2 separate regions of the Homo sapiens genome follow, and region 2 is linked to region 1. Evidence: promoter capture Hi-C in 16 types of primary human blood cells and fetal thymus (Javierre and others, 2016). All regions are on one chromosome and are shown on one strand. Each heading gives the region's core, a stretch centred on a gene start or on the middle of the fragment in contact. The rest is flanking DNA. Distances are from core to core; before and after follow the strand shown. Region 1 holds the start of PAM (peptidylglycine alpha-amidating monooxygenase). Region 2 overlaps MACIR (macrophage immunometabolism regulator).

Region 1 (3,855 bases), core at 986-3,485:
AAGGAAGAAACTCCAAACACATCCAAACATCAGAAGGAACAAACTCCAGACATGCTGCCTTTAAGAACTGTAACACTCACAGAGAGGGTCCGCGGCTTCATTCTTGAAGTCAGTGAGACCAAGAACTCACCAATTCCAGACACACCAGGACCTTGAGGGTGTGAGAGGTTACCGTCAGGTTACATTTAGAAGTGTTGTCCCAACTACTCTCCCACATTTAAGGCAAAAATATAGTCACCACTGAACAAGAAAATCATCTTGGCACAAAAATGTACTGAATTGAAGAAAGAAAACAAAGAGAAACAAAACACCATAGCCTAGAACTCCTGCCCCTCCACATTTTCTTCTCTCTCTCACACCACAAACTTTCTCTCTGTGACACACACACACACACACACACAGAGGAGAGACGTATTTGAGGGAGGGTCTCAAGTGCTTGCTTTCCTTAACAACCCAGACCAGGAGGAAGAGATAAAGTGACTTAGGAGATGCCTAAAGATGAAGAACAGCCCGGGATCCGTAAACAGACTCAGCTCGGTGTCTTCTCGCACCTTCTCAGAATCAAGTTTCCAAAATGAGGGTCATCCGCCTGCCTTGGAATTTGGGTTGGGAAGTGGATGGAGTTCCTGGACACATGCTCTAGGCCCTGACCAGTCTGGCCACTGCTCACTAGGAATTCTGTTGGGAGGGTGTACAACAGATTTTCCAACTGGTCTACAGCGAGCATCGGTAGTTTCCCTATGGAGAAAATGATTTTCTTTCTGGGAATCCCCCTATAGCCTGAAGGCTTTGCCTCATTTCCCATAGCTCCTCTCCGGTGTACCCCTTCGGTTCGCACTTTCCTACCTTCTTCCCAGTCCACTGGCTTCTCCTTCTTTATCTTCCTCAGTGTCCCTTCTCACAACCTCCCTGCTACCACACCAGATTCTGAAGGGGAGGAGTTGTCTGGAAAGACCAGAGCTGGGTGCTGGGGATCTGGAGCAGCTCGGGACCCGCGCTGCAGGGAGCTGGGATGGGAGAGGTGAGGGAGAGGAGGATGGGACTCTGGGAGAAAGAGAGGGGGCTGGGCTGGCGCTGGGGATGGAAGAGGCGAGGTGAACGCACTCAAGCGGTTACCTGCAGACAGGGAGAGACAGTGGCAAATACCTGCCTTCAATTAAACGCATATCAATTTGTGTGTGGGGTCAGTACTGCACATCATCAAGCCTCTTGGGTATAAAACCTTCCTACTGGAACTCTCCAGCCCCGCCCCCACCACCCCACGCGCGGCTCCCTGCTTTCTCTTGCTTTGGGGTGAGGCTGGGGATGTGGGTGGCTCCAGAGTTCCCTGCCCGCAGTTTAGGGGCGAAGTGATCGGTGTGTGCGCGCTGGGCACTCTGCGGGTTAAAAAGGTTTAGCAGAAAGGGATGCAGATGGAGGCGGGAAGCCAGGCTAAGAAAGGGATACCGACCTCCCTCCTCGGGTCGGAGGTGTGAACTGGGAAGCACTGCGCAGACCTGAGCGAGGTGGCCTGAATCCAGGGGCCGGGCAAGGGGGTGGTGTGAATAGAAATAGCACATTTCCCAGGCTTTCAGCCCCGGTACTCTGCCATCCTTCCAGTTCCATGCACTCAGCCAGGTCTCCAGGCTGGAGCAAGGGCTGGGGGTCAATGGGTCCTTCCTTCTCTCGGGAAACGTTCTTCTGGCGCGAAGCTGGGCGGAGGGAGAGTCGGACATTTTCCTCTGCTTCTCTCAGGGCAGCTGGCGTGGCCACCTCGCAAGGCTGCTTCTAGGGACACGAGACTCGGGAGGGTCAGAGACTTTCAGGCCGGGCCTTCACTCCCTTCCCCGGGGCACTTGGGCAAGAGTTCCAGCTCTTGGCTACCTCTGGCCCGCGCGTGAGTTCAGACACCCAGCACACGCGACCCCCGCAGGGAAACCCCGGGAAGCTGCGCGCAATCGCTGGGGACTCGCCAGGGCTCCACTTCCCAAGCTCCGCGCCCCCTGCGCCCAAAGAGGCAGGGCGGAGCAGAGGCCGCCGGCGTGGAGGAGGCGAGCGCGGGGCTGGCCCGGGAGCCGCCCCCGGGGAGGGACTGAGACCTGCCCCAGGAGTCGAGGGCGAGCGGCGGACCCGGCTGGGCCCGGCGCACGCCGAGGAGAGGGAGCCCCCGCCACCGCCGCTGCCTCCGCGTGCTCAGCCTGTCCCCGCCCAGGGAGCCGGAGCCTCCAACTAACTCCGCCCGCCGCTCCGCCGCCCGCAGGCTCCGGCTTCCGTCCCGGACAGAGCCCGTGGTCGCGCAGGTTGGTGTTGTTGCCGCTGCTGCCGCCACTGCGAGGCGGTCAGGGCAAGGGTGAGGGTGGGGGCGCGGAAGGGGGCCTGGGCTCGGGATCCTGCTGCCACCAATTCCTGGTGCCCCAGGAGGTTGTTGCTTTTTCTCCCGGGCTGCCCGGGTCGGGGGTGGGGGGATGGGGCGGGGATCCAGCGATGCGGCCAGGGAGGATTTTGGGGACTGAGCTATTCTCGCATTTCCCAAACCTCTCTCACGACCCTTCATCACCATTATTAAGTCCCTGGCCAGTTTGTGAGGGGTCGTCCTCCCCTCCGGTCCTTCTCACCTCCGCACTTCTCCTTGTGCCCTCTCCCTAGGGGGTACAATTTGTTCATTCGCCTTTTCTGCCCCCAACTTGGAGAACTCTCCGTGACGCCTAGAAAGCCTCCTCGGTTCTCCGCCCGCCCTTCAGTCTAGTTTGGGGAAGTAGAGGCCGCCGCGGAGTAGCAACCTGGGGTGTGGAGTGGGGGCGAGTGCCGGGAAGCAGTGGAAATTCCTTCCCCTCTTTCTTTCCCGTCCTTGCCCAGCTTTGCTCTCTTCCTGCCGTTTTGCCAGCCTCCGAATGTAATACGCGGGCGAAGGGCGATCTCCAAGGCAGAATGGGAAGTATCCACCACTTGGGATACTAGTTAAGTCTAGGTTCAGTCACCTTCCCAGCTCTGTGGCCTTGGGACCCGCCCCATCGGAACCTGTATGTTGTCATCTGCAAAATATGCGTCAGCTCTGCCTGCCGCTGAGGGTAGTTGTGGGGCTCCCTTGGGATGACTTAGGGTATTACGTGATTTTGAGCACGGTCTCTTGTCTCGTGCAGCTGCCTGATGGCAGGTCCTGTGTTCTGATCGTCTGAGTTCAGGTCCTTTGGCTGAGATGTGATTATCTCTCTGGGTGATTTGGTCAGTAGCTTTGCGGGGCTAAAAGGCATGTGTTCCTGGAGCTGGTCATTGGGGTTCAGAGTTGAAATCGTGTCGTCCCCACCAATCCCTGTGTACAAAGCTATGGACCTTACATCCTGTGCCTTTGTGGTCATAGAAATTCAAGTAGAAGGAAGATCTTATTGGACTTTGTTTGCTTCAGATGTTTTACATTCTTTACAATCGCTTTTCTCTTCTAGGTGCAAACTTAAATTTACTGCTAATTCTAATAATCCAGGAAGGATACTTTCATTTTAGTAAAATCAGACATTTAGCTCAAATAACATGTGACATATTGTTTGTAAATTTTCAGTTTATAATCACAGGCACAAAAAAGCATAGTTCATGCCATTCTAGTTACTTTATAAAGCAAGTAAATGGCCTAAAAAATCAGCTTTACAGGAAGTCAGGGCTGCAGTGAACTGTGTTTATACCACTGCACTCCAGCCTCGGTGACAGAGCAAGACCCTGTCTCAAAAATAAATAATCAGCTTTAGAATTGATATTAAATGGTAAGCCCTGTCGTTCCTGCATTCCTGACTTAATAGGCATTTTCATTCCGCGATGCACTCTGCTATATGCTTTAAAGATATAAAGATATAGAGTATGTTCCTTGTCCTGAAGGGCCTTCCAAGG
Region 2 (3,855 bases), core at 358-2,857, 520 kb after region 1:
AGCCAGAAATATTTTGTGTGTTCTTATGAAACTATGTATGATGGCTTTCATTTGCTTAATGCTGAGATCTGTATTTGACTCGCTTGATATTGCATTAAGGAATAAACTTTATGTGATTGAATAGAGTGCGGAATTTAGAGAAGTATTGTTGTTGTTGTTTTCTGTTTGCTTCTCCATCTGAACTTTTTGGTAGTACATCAGACTTTAATTTAACTTGCCTTTCAGTTCTTAAAGGCAGAGAGGTATTGTCATTTCATGCCCGCTCTGAAACGTTTAGTAGACATAGTTACATGTCAGTGGTACATTGACTGTCTTTCAGGCAAGTGTTACTTCATGCTCCCTGAGCCTTCTAAAAGGACCTGGCCTGGCCCAAGTCTCTGTGCATTATATTCTTCTAATCTAAGTCTGTTTACTTTTAGGATTGTGCAGACTGGTGCTTAAAATGGAAGTCGATATTAATGGAGAGTCTAGAAGTACCCTGACCACCTTGCCCTTCCCTGGGGCTGAGGCCAACTCCCCGGGAAAGGCGGAGGCAGAGAAGCCCCGCTGCTCCAGCACACCCTGCTCCCCGATGCGGAGGACCGTGTCAGGCTACCAGATCCTACACATGGACTCTAACTATTTGGTTGGCTTCACGACTGGCGAGGAACTCCTGAAGTTAGCTCAGAAGTGCACAGGAGGTGAAGAGAGCAAAGCAGAAGCCATGCCATCCTTACGCTCCAAACAGCTAGATGCAGGACTTGCCCGTTCCTCTCGTTTGTATAAAACCAGAAGTAGGTACTACCAGCCATACGAGATTCCAGCTGTCAATGGCAGGAGGCGAAGGCGGATGCCAAGCTCAGGAGACAAGTGCACTAAATCTTTACCTTATGAACCTTACAAGGCCCTCCATGGGCCTCTGCCTCTTTGTCTTCTTAAAGGTAAGAGGGCTCACTCCAAATCTCTGGACTACCTCAATCTAGATAAAATGATCAAGGAGCCAGCTGATACAGAAGTGCTACAGTACCAGCTTCAACACCTAACCCTCCGAGGGGACCGTGTGTTTGCTAGGAATAATACATGAATGACTTGGAGAGAGCTTAAACCAATTTAGGTCAGCCTACGCTTGGCTAGAAAAAACCCACTGCTGTACTCTGTACATGACTCTTCACACTATAGATGGTTATATCAGCTAAGTGTTCCTGGAACATAAAAATTGTTTGGGTCAAATTTGAATACAGGAATGAAATCACAGGTACTTGGGGGGGGGATATCATTCTAGAGCACGCAACTGCAAAGAAAACAGAATGTTGACTGTTAGTTTGTATAGCTTTTTAGCTAGGAAAAAAAGGCTTTGGTACAGTAATTTCATCTTTATGATTCTGACACTCAAATTGGGAATGTTACCTGCTTGGTTGTTGCTGACTTGATATGATTCATTAGAAATTTATATCTTCAGTACTCAAGTACTTCTTGAATCTCTGTATTTTACTATAAAATGTATGTAATGATTTGTTTTATGAAATTTAGAACTTGAACATTGCTGAATTGGACCACTTTTTATTTTTAAATATTGAGTTTAAATATTTTATAACTGGTTTTGCACTGAAAAAATTAACATTTCAGATTGACAAGAGAGTAATCTTTCTTCACTTGCCTCAATAATGTTATTGAGCAATGAATTTTTTATTTCCGCATGGAAAGTTATTGATCTCTATGGCTGTAAAATATTTCTTTATAGCGTTATTAAAGTGTGTCTTAATAAAATTAAATTTGGGATACAAAGTATTTATTTTACAATGGGTGGGCGGGGGAAACTTTTCCAGAAAGTTTCCAATATGACGTTTTCATAAGTTGAAAAAACTCTCCTTAGTGCTTATTTTCTAACTTAAAATTCACCTGGAACTTTAAATGGGAAAGGATTCTTTTAATTGTGGATTATAGGCATAATACTGTTTGCATCTGAATTTTCTGTAAGTGAATAATAGTTTAATAGAGGAACTCATGATTTGTACTATTGAATGATTAAACTAAGTATGAAGTGATACCATTCAGCATGGCATCAGGTCATTGCAGTTTTAGTTCTGTGTAACACAAGCACTCACTGAAATTCCAGTTTCTAGGATTAGTGTAGGAGCCTAACGTGCTTCTACTGTTTTAATGGGTTAATCCTGGATTACTTAACAATTTATGTCAATTGCACTGGTTTAATTTGTTGCTAAAGAAATAATGCCCTGGGTTTAGTAACAAATACAGCTCAACTATTCTTGAATATATTTTGAAAAAAAAATGTATGTAACTTACCTTTTGTAAACGTTCCATTTCTTTTTTCCCTCATTTTTGACTCTTAAAGGTGCAATTTATTACTGAATTGGGATTTCTGGCAGCACAGAACTGCTTTTTATTTTGGGGTCTGTGAGTTTCTTAGGTATTAGCAATCTTGCTTATAAAATAAGAACACCTTTTAATTAATGAGTGGGTCATTCCTGGTGCAATTGTGATTTTTCTTTAGCCAGAATGAATGGCAAACTCTATTTAGAGCAAAGTAAGTATTAGAAAACCCTAGGAACTCTTAATCAACGTTTATTACACTTTCATTAAGGCAAACTACGTGAAAGAGCCTTGGGGAAGTTGGCCCATATCTTACTAAGTTGATCAGATTTCTCGTTGGGCTGGAAATGTTTCGCTGTTGTATATTTTAAAGTAAATTGCACCTTTGTAACATATTGTATTGACGAATGATCACTAAGATTAGCTATATCTATACAGTCATTAGTTTGACAAGAAATAGAATCCTGTCAGATGCCAAAGAGTGGGATTTTTATGTTTAATGATTAAACACCATTATTTATTGACAATTTACCCTGTGGAACTGTATTATTTCTAACTATGAAATAAAGGGGTGATGTAAACACACATTGTTGTGTGGTGCTTTAAACTAGGTCCACTATCAACAGGCTACTTACTGTTCAAGAATTCCACTGAAGCACTTATTTTAAGGCCCTATTTTTCTTAAACAAAACAGTGACAACAACAATCAAACCATTTACTTTTGATGCTCATTGGCATTTTATGATAAAAGATGTATTCATGGCAATGATATGTATTCACCCTATTAGGAAACACAACTGGTTACCTATGAGACCTGTTCTGTCCGTGTGCCTACGTTCCTTAATAATAGCTAAATAAAAATTTGTAGCTTTTTTTGTTTTGTTTTGTTTTTTCCTGAAAGACAGGTGAAACTCTGTGGCAAAAATAGGGGGGTTAATAGTATAAGATATGGCATACTTACTCTTTTTTGATTAGTAAAGATATATAATTTTAAATTTGGTTTTCTAGAAAGAAAGTTTCAAAACTCTAGGCCAGTAATTTTCACAATGTGTTTGCAGAACCCCTTTATTAGTTCAGTCTTACTTTCTCTGCACCCCATGGAATTGTAGCCTATGGTAGGTAAGAACCAATTTTTTTAAAAAAAGGGTAGGCTGGATCTCTTTTAGTTGAAAAACAATCCCTTTTGACATGGTTTCTATTTTTTAACTTTTTCATTTTTTATTCAATTTAATATTCCACACTAAATGGGGCACACTTGGCCAGAATATACCTGATGATATTATCTTACTGTTCTTGCCCTTAAACATTGCAGCACTATATAACTTTAATTTTTTTCTTCTTTTGCAAAAGTACCGTTTGTTTGAAGCTCAGATGATGCATAAAGTTGCAGTAAAATTTCATTCCTTGCCTCAATCTGAGGTGAGCTTCTTTTGCTCTTCTGACTTCCATTTGGTTGCATTTTACACCTCTGGGTGCAGGGCTCCCATAGTCAGTAGTCATGGAAGAAGAGGCTCTATGGGGATGGATTTAACATGTAAAAACCAG

Evidence for each region. The method cuts DNA at HindIII sites, captures the fragments that hold promoters and counts their contacts. A CHiCAGO score of 5 or more calls a contact.
Region 2: a contact is called between a fragment that was not itself captured here and the fragment with the promoter of PAM in region 1, in 1 of 17 cell types (total CD4 T cells). The highest score is 6.2, in total CD4 T cells.

Annotation. Positions count from the first base shown.
Region 1 is chr5:102,753,070-102,756,924 of GRCh38, forward strand. It overlaps PAM (peptidylglycine alpha-amidating monooxygenase), which reads left to right and starts at 2,236. Exons shown (of 26, transcript NM_001177306.2): 1 at 2,236-2,279. RefSeq lists enhancers at 1,265-1,790, 2,798-3,298, 2,870-2,959 and a silencer at 1,930-2,479. The HindIII fragment of the contact is 4,564 bases long and covers 1-3,855 here.
Region 2 is chr5:103,275,478-103,279,332 of GRCh38, forward strand. MACIR (macrophage immunometabolism regulator) reads left to right here. Exons shown (of 3, transcript NM_033211.4): 3 at 420-3,183. The coding sequence starts at 443. The coding sequence ends at 1,063. Among named protein-coding and RNA genes, the nearest start is that of MACIR, 19 kb to the left of the region's middle. The HindIII fragment of the contact is 4,833 bases long and covers 1-3,855 here.